3 separate regions of the Homo sapiens genome follow, and all the other regions are linked to region 1. The links are contacts of gene promoters, found by promoter capture Hi-C in human tissues and cell types (Jung and others, 2019). All regions are on one chromosome and are shown on one strand. Each heading gives the region's core, a stretch centred on a gene start or on the middle of the fragment in contact. The rest is flanking DNA. Distances are from core to core; before and after follow the strand shown.

Region 1 (2,773 bases), core at 157-2,656:
CAAGCCCTAGGACCTGCCACAGGCAACCAGCCCATATATGGAAAAGAAACCCCTCATATTCTCACCCCATTCTTTCCTATTCTGGGCCTAGGATATCATCATTCCTCAACCCAAGGATCCCTGTTTCTTATTCTCAGTGTCCTAATCCCCTACTCCTCTCTATCCTCAGACTGACAACCCATCATTTCTCCTCACTGCCAATCCAGAAACTTTTCATCCTTCCCCCTCATTCCTCCCTGTCACTGACCTAAGGGCCTCTATCCCTCTATTTTATCACCCCAAGACCCCCATAGTCCCCATCCTCAGCCCCAAAGGGCCCCATTTCTCTTGCCCTCACTACTTGACTTCAGTAGTCTCTCATTCCCCCCTTCCTTGACCCAGGAGTTCCTAATTTCCCTCCTTCAGTGTTTTAACCACTCCATTCCTTCTCTGCCTGATGTCCTCTTATCCTGCTACCTCAGTGTTACAACCTCGACTTCCTCTGCGAGACACAACTGCTCCAACCCATAGCCTGAACAGCCCCTCATCTTTTCCATTCCTCACACTGGAAGCCTCCCATGCCTCCCCTTCCTCAGCCCAAGACCTCCCCCCTTATTTTTCTTCTCCTTCAATGTTCTCACCCACAATTTCTCCCTAGTCTGAGCTCCCAAACCTTCCTCTACAGCCAAAAAGTTCCCCACTTCTCCTCCTTACTGTTCTCATCCTCCATTCCTCCCTTATCATCCAGAGAGACCCTAATTTCTCCCCTCAGCATTCCGAACCCTCCTCCATTCTCTCTGTTCTTGTCCCGGGATCATGCCATCCCTAACTGTCACCATTCTGATCCCCTACTGCTCCTCGTCCTCTATATGGGGCCTCCTATTCCTCCCTTTCAGCATTCCAAAGCCTCTATTTCTCCTGTCATCAGCCTGAGGGCCCCTCATTTCTCCCTCTCAGAGTTCTGAACCCCCATTTCTCTCTCAACTTCAGATGCCCCGATGTCTCCCTTTAGCGTTCTGATCTCCACCATTCCTCTCCGTCCTCGTCCCAGGATCCCGACACTCCTACCTGTCAGAGTTCAGAGCTGCATTCCTTCCCGTCCTCAGCCTAAATCCCCCCATTTCTCCTCGTCAGTATTCCGACGCCGCCATTCCTCCCCCTTATCGGCCTGAGGGCCCTTCATTCCTCCCCGTCAGCGTTCTGAGCCACAATTCCTTCCCATCCTCCGCCTGAGCGCTCTCCACGTCCAGCCCCAAGGCTGTCTCACCAGTTTGGCACCAGGCCGGTATCTTCCGCCACTCTAGGCCCGTGGACCCATGGCGAGGGTCCCTCCTGCACCTCCCGCCTCGCCCTCCTCCCCTTCCTCCTCCTCCGCGGCCGCCTCCTCTGAAGCGGTAGCTGTCGCCTCCGCGGCTGTTCGTTGCTCCCGGAACCGGAAGTCCGCTGCCTGCCTCTCGGGCTCCGCCTCTGGCTAAGCACCTGCGCACTATTGCCTCGATGTCGCGTGCCCTTAATAGGGAGGCTCCCGCGCCTACGGGCCGGCGCTCCGCAGCGGTGCGCGCGCCCCCCTGCCGAGAGCCAGTTGCATCTGCGTGCTGACGTTCAACGACAGCTAACCCCTTCGAGGGACTGGCAGTTGCGGCTCTCCTCGCTGCCCATCTAGCTGGCGCATGCGCTTTCCAGCCTCAACCTGAAGGGAAGCGGTCGGGGAGGGCTTGCGCCTGCGCCCTCCCTTCCCTCCCGCGGTCTCCACAGCCGATACCGAACGCGGCAAGGAAGCTGCTTCGCGCCTGCGCACTCCCTGGCCCTGCCGGCGCTCTCCTCTCCCACCTCTCGCTGGGGTCTATCCTGTGTTCGTGGGTCCCTCCGAACATCAACCCCAGGGGGGGTCGTGTCCCGCTCCCTCCTCCCCGCCGAACAGCTGTGGGAGCGCGCGGGGCGGGGAAAGGGGCGGTGCCACACCGCAGGTAAACTGAGGCACGCGGGAGGGCGCGCCCCTGCAGGAGGCGGATCCCCAACGTGGGGCTTGTGGGGAAAAGGCGGGGCCTGGCGTCCACAGCGGACGACAGCTCTGGGTGGGAGACAGGAGCATGCATGGGCGGTGTCACCACACTGAAGGCGCGCTGCGTAGACCCTCTGCCCGTGGGAGGCTGGGAATGTGGGTCCCTGGGCTCTCGCGGGGTGCAGGCGCCCCCCATCTTATCCAGAAGTCTGGAACAGTTGCAACCGCAGCAATGTGGAGACAGCTTCCTTGGTTTCTTCAAAATTTTATTAACAAAACCCAGGGAGAGGAGGCAAGGATGAGTGGACTCCGCAGCCCCACCAGGCACTGAACATGTCGACGGGGACAGTCCCTCTGATAAAGGCAGATGGGCGGTCAACCGGTGGATGGGCACAGGGAGAACCGGAGAAACAGATGAGTGGAGGAACGGACACACGGGCACCGGGCGGCTCCCCCATCTGGAATGCAGGGTGTAAGGGGTCCGGGCCAGGAGGCTCAGCGGTCGGCACTGGAGCGCAGGTCGGTAGTGAGGGGATCGTGCTGGATCGTCTGGTGCAGCATCAGGGCCAGCAATCCCGCGCGGTTTGTCATGGCTGTGCGCACATTGCGCTCCTGCTCAAACAGCTCGTCCAGCTTGTACCACTGCCAAGGGAGCGGCAGGAGTCCTAAGCAGGAACACCTGCAGCCCCGCCTGCCCCGGCCACGTCCGACATGGAAACCTACCACATGCAGCACCAAAACCGCACAGAAACCTACCACACGCACGCGCTCCAAGTCCACTTCCGCACGCCG
Region 2 (2,773 bases), core at 85-2,584, 1.8 Mb before region 1:
GTGGTAGAAGATTGTAGGGAATGGAGAAGTGACAGTGTGGCCAACCCAGAATGCTCTTTAGCAGAACTGAATGCCTGTCATAGCTGACAGATGAGCCACTCAGAACATGCTTGCATTTGTCAATGATCCCTCCAGCTGACTCCACAGTCGACTGGTTTCACAAAGCATAACACTGGTTGTGATTTGTGTCTGGGTAACCACAGCTTCCAGAGATGGGCCCTGTCCAAGAAGCTGGTATTCAAAAATTACAACTCAATTGATAGGAGAAGAGTTCACTGGTACTGGCTTAGTAATTAAATTGCGAGGTGATTATTAGTCTGCTCAGGCAAAAAGATCACATGTGAGTACTTTAAGTAGCCTAAGACTAAAAAACTCCTCCCAGAAAAAAAAAAAACAAACCTGTAACTAAATTCATACCATTTTCTGCCAATTATAGATGCCCTCCAGTGACTTTAAGGTTGCCACAGCAACATGCCCACTGAAAGGTTGTCTTAGTCCATTTTGTGCTTCTATAACAGAATACCTGAGACTGGGTAATTTATAAAGAGAAGATATGTATTTCTTACCTTTCTGGAGGCTGAAAGTCTAAGGTATAGGGGCCCACATCTTGCAAGGACCTTCTTGCTGTGTCATCCCATAGTGGAAGGTGGAAGGACAAGACAGCACACATGAGCAAGAGATCAAACTCACAGACTGAAGCCCTTTCATAATCAGCATTAATCCATTATGGGGTGGAGCCATCATGACCTAAACACCTCCTAGTAGGCCCTGCCCCCCAACGCTGTTGCATTAGGGATTAAGTTCCCAACACATGCTTTTTGTTAAAAAGAAATGTGTTAAATAATGCATTGGGACATATTCACTATAGCATAGGGCATGATTGCTAAGTCCTGAAATATATGGATATAGCAAAGAGAGAATGTTTCACATCTTATCTCTGTGTCAAGCCAAAATTTTCTTCTAGGGGTAGGACAGGTGAACTGTCACCAGGCAGCTCTCCTCTCTTCTGTGGCGCAATCTGAGGTCCCAAGCTGGCTTGCCACCTCTGCCACTGCCCCACAGGGAGCACAGCAGCCCGGCATTTCCCCTACACTGCTCCCTTCCCCTGGGTGGTCTCCCAGTCCACATAAGCTAATAGGCATCCTCCCTTGTTTTTCTGAAAACCTCCTCTGCCACCTCTCCCAAGCAGGGTTCCCTGACCAAGTGGCAGCTTGGTGCTTTCTAGAGCAGATCCCATTCAATCACCTAGCTCTGCACAAAATAAATTCAAAGGCTTCACACACCCTTTGCCTTTGTTCAAGTCCCAGACTTGCTGAAAATCAGCTGACTCCTGTGAAGGTGATAATGGGGAGTAATGCTGTGAACCACACTGATACTGAAGACACATTCCAGAAAGCTGCTGATGAGGCAAAATTTGGTCTATCAGGTCTGACATTGCATGTACCAGACGTGCTGCTACTTAAAGAAATGATGGCTACTTCTTTTGTAAAAGGGATAACCATCTTACAAAGTGTCTTTTGTGTAAATTTCTATTTTTATATATTAGTAGGTACATTTTAGAATTTAAAAAGCTGTCTTGAGTCATTTCTGGAAAGAGTGGAGTATAAACAAATCTGATAATTTTGCCAAAACGGAAAAAGAGGTGGGGTGAGGGTAGTGGATCTGCATGTGAGAAAGGGACAGAATGACAGCTCATGAAGAACCATGAGAACAGATCCTGATTCTGCAAGTTCTACTGAACCCTCAGAGGCCCTGCTGAAGATGAGGATGAGGATTACTGGGATTAGGGCACAAGCCAGTGTTGGATCTCACAGTCTGGGTCAGGCTGGGAGTGGCTCCCACAGTCTGGGCCATACTCTACTGTCTACCCGCATTATAACTGAAAAACAAAATCTAATCTCACCCTCTTGAGTCATAGAATAAAGTCCTAATTGGTCAAAACTTTTGTTCCTGGTCCCACACAGCCTATCACTTGGGTAACAGCAAAAATAATAACAATAATAACCAAAAAATAAAACCTGGTGTTACTATAAGTCCTTACTATGTGTGAAATGCCTTGTATACATCATCTCCTTTAAGCCTTATAATGACTTACTGAGATATGTTCTATTATTTCTCTCTTTTGTAGAGGAAATGGAAGCTTAGAGTTGCCCAAGGTCAAGTGGTGATAAAAGGGGAAGGCAGGATGCAAATCCTGGTGTCTGCCTCCTGAGTCCAGTCTTGAACCAATGACACACAACTAACTTTCTGGACTTCGTGCCTCCTCCTCCCCATTGCTCAGCCCCTCCCCGATGTGAGTTCCCACTTCTAAGCTCCTGCCTGCCTATCACTGGGAAAGCCCCCTTTCCAGCCCTGGTCCCATCCTATCACACTCATGCCTGGCTCGGTTCCACTTCTCCCTTGAATGTCTCTCTGCTGCTCTAGCTTACAAGGGTTGCCTTTTCCCTGAACAATCACTCTGTCTATATTACACATATGGCACACCTTGGATTTTAATATTTTACTGCCATTTCTGTTTAAAATGTGTATGTCATCTGAACTAAACTGTGAGGTTCTGTAAGCCTAAATTAATGCCCACTTTTGTGTGTGCTGGTCATTCATATTCAACTTTGAACAAATGCGTTATATATAATAAATACTAGGGTATAAAGGATCATTTAAATAATTTTTTAATGTTATCTATAAAGAGTTTTTAATAACACAGAAAATATGTGTTTAATTTTATTACATGAGAAAAGCAACATGCAAACATGCATAAGCAATGCCATCTCAG
Region 3 (2,773 bases), core at 72-2,571, 1.1 Mb before region 1:
GAATGATACACACAAGAACATGGATAAATCTCCAGTCTCAAAAGACTAAATACCATATGATAAGATTTATGACAAAGTGGCAAAGGAAAACTAAATAACAGAAGGGGGCTTGGGTAGTAAGAATGGTTTGACTACAGAGCAGCACAGCGGAATCTTTAGGGAGATGAACATATTATCTTCACTATGGTGGTAAATACATGACTATATGTGTTTGTCAACTCAAAGAACTATTTACTAAAAGGGAAATTTTCTACATGTAATACATTTTTTAGTGTCCTAACAAATTAAAAACAACAGTCACTAAGGTGAAGCAGTAGCCTATGCTGGTCGAATATACCAACTGTATTCAAGGGAAGAAGAAAATTAGGTTATAGATTTTAAGCTCAATTCTAATGTCCTGTTCAAGCACAGACCATTTGTCTTTAAAAACCTTTGATATCAAGCCCCTTATAATCTCTCTACACTTTTCACATGTCTTTCCCATGCTAGCATCCAAAAAAATCTTACTACCTCAAAAAAGAACTACTATCAGACATCTGGGAACAAAACCAAGTGTTTCCTGCCATGACAGAGACTTGTTAATATCCTACCAAAAATGAGCTATACTGAAATGAGATAAGTTCCTGAGAAAAGCTTACCACACCCTAAATACTACAGCAATGGTTCATTCCACATCAATCTGTATATTGGCCCCAAACAAACAAAAGGCTTATTAGAGAAGAGTTATTTCTCAAGGTCTTAATGGAAGTCAGAGGAAATAGTCAATGAAGCACTAAATATTTAATTCAAAACACTCAGTATACTTGGTTTGGTAGTCTGAGACATACGCCTTATAATTAATAAAACAGATTTTCTCCTTAAGAATCCACATTCTATCTACTATCAGATAAAATTCTGCAGAGGGCAGAGAACAAAAGAGATACAGAACCATGCAGAAAAACTCAATAACCTATATGTAGAAATAAGTAAAAGGCAAAAAAGAGTATTTCTACACGATGAATATACTTTAAAATGCACATAGAGCTTAAATAATCAAATGGGTCCATTATTTATTTAAAAAATGACTTCATGAATGTCACTAAAAGAATACTATTTTTCTAATGCACAATATTCATCTTTTAGATAGATATATTAGCTTAGACTACTACACTGCCTTTTGAGAAGTTCAAAGAACCTTAAGATCAACCTCATTACTCCATCCTTTAAAAAGGGTTTTCTAATTTTCAACTTATTTATTCATATATGTATGCGCTTATGTATGCATATATTTAAAGCAATGGAACCCTTTCTTCCAATGAAAGCTGATGTGAAATGGCAACGTGTAAACAGATCAAAGCAGAGGGGAGCTGCTCTGGGAGGAGTAGAGTGGGTATCCCAGAGCAGCTGGTGGCTGCTCATGTTGACACCAGCAAAGAAAGCACGAGATCTAGAGTACGAGAACAAAACACAGAACCTGAAAATGATTGCTTTAAAGTAAAAGGTATCAGAATCACAGAATCTTGGATTTGGGGGTAGACCTCCCTTTACCCAATTTTCCATCCATCTCTCTGATGGTGCCTCCAAAGGTATGCAGCCACTGCTGAACAGCTTAAGTTCTCTTAGGTCTTTCCCAGGACTCTTTCCCAAGTGAAAATGCAGGTCACAGTTACACTGTCCTATGTGAAAGATACTGAAATACATGAACGAGTTGCCACATTCCTTTTGGTTATTAGGATCAGCATGTTTCCTTTGTCAAATAAAGTGGAGTGGATCTACTTGTATCTGGTTCCTCTGAGGTAGTGGCAGTCTAGATCCAACTCTAATGAAATAAACAGCTGTTACAATGCTTCGTAGTGTACTAGCACATCTGGAGCTAAAAAGTCACCAGAGGAATCTTAGTCAAAGATTCCTCTAAATACAAACTGTAAGTACTAACTAGCCTTGAAGAGGGTCACATCAACATGACTCTTAAAACTGCAACGTCTGTATCTGATTTTACTTCTGCAGGCAAGAAAAGGAACACAGGTTGGAGACAAGAAAACTTAGTATTCATAGATAAAAAATTTTAAAACATGTAATTCCTTTATAATAATATTCAGTTATATATACCTTCCAAAATTCTTTTTCTTGCCATCTGTTGATGTTTCTAAATTACACATGTGATTTTCATGTTCCCCTGCCTTTTACCTACTGAAATACTATTCATCCGATAAGATCTTGTTTGAAAGACAGGTACGTTATGAAGTATTCTGCTTTATCCTAGTTTGGAACTATTTGCTCCCCCCACTTTCCATATTCATATACTTTGCACAATTTATCACTTTCTGTATTAGCTGGCCATACGGAAATTCTACTTGATTGAAACAGAATTTCTTCTTTTTTGATTTTTTCTTTTTTTTTTTTCTTTTTGAGAAGGGGTCTCACTCTGTCACCCAGGCTGGAGTGCAGTGGCGCGATCTCGGCTCACTGCAAGATCCACGTGGGTTCATGCCATTCTCCTGCCTCAGCCTCCCGAGTAGCTAGGACTACAGGCACCCACCACCACACCTGGCTAATTTTTTGTATTTTTAGTAGAGATGGGGTTTCACCGTGTTAGCCAGGATGGTTTCAATCTCCTGACCTCGTGATCTGCTCGCCTCGGCCTCCAAAGTGCTGGGATTACAGGCGTGAGCCACTGTGCCCGGCCTCTTTTTTTTTTTTTTTTTTTTTTTTGGAAACAGACTTGCTCTGTCGCCCAGGATGGAGTGCAGTGGCGAGATCTCGGCTCACTGCAACCTCTGCGTCCCGGGTTCAA

Evidence for each region. The method cuts DNA at HindIII sites, captures the fragments that hold promoters and counts their contacts. A contact is called where the count stands out against the background at its distance.
Region 2: a fragment that was not itself captured here is called in contact with the fragment with the promoter of MBD1 in region 1 in 1 of the 25 tissues and cell types used here (spleen).
Region 3: a contact is called between a fragment that was not itself captured here and the fragment with the promoter of MBD1 in region 1, in 1 of the 25 tissues and cell types used here (dorsolateral prefrontal cortex).

Annotation. Positions count from the first base shown.
Region 1 is chr18:50,280,117-50,282,889 of GRCh38, forward strand. It overlaps MBD1 (methyl-CpG binding domain protein 1), which reads right to left and starts at 1,407. Exons shown (of 17, transcript NM_015846.4): 1 at 1,247-1,407. It overlaps CXXC1 (CXXC finger protein 1), which reads right to left. Exons shown (of 15, transcript NM_014593.4): 14 at 2,738-2,773; 15 at 2,231-2,623. The coding sequence ends at 2,477. RefSeq lists silencers at 1,140-1,219, 1,230-1,339 and enhancers at 1,485-2,065, 2,066-2,646. The HindIII fragment of the contact is 21,891 bases long and covers 1-2,773 here.
Region 2 is chr18:48,529,863-48,532,635 of GRCh38, forward strand. No RefSeq gene overlaps it. Among named protein-coding and RNA genes, the nearest start is that of CTIF, 7.8 kb to the right of the region's middle. The HindIII fragment of the contact is 6,431 bases long and covers 1-2,773 here.
Region 3 is chr18:49,229,937-49,232,709 of GRCh38, forward strand. All of the region lies in intron 13 of DYM (dymeclin), which reads right to left. Among named protein-coding and RNA genes, the nearest start is that of MIR4744, 180 kb to the left of the region's middle. The HindIII fragment of the contact is 7,681 bases long and covers 1-2,773 here.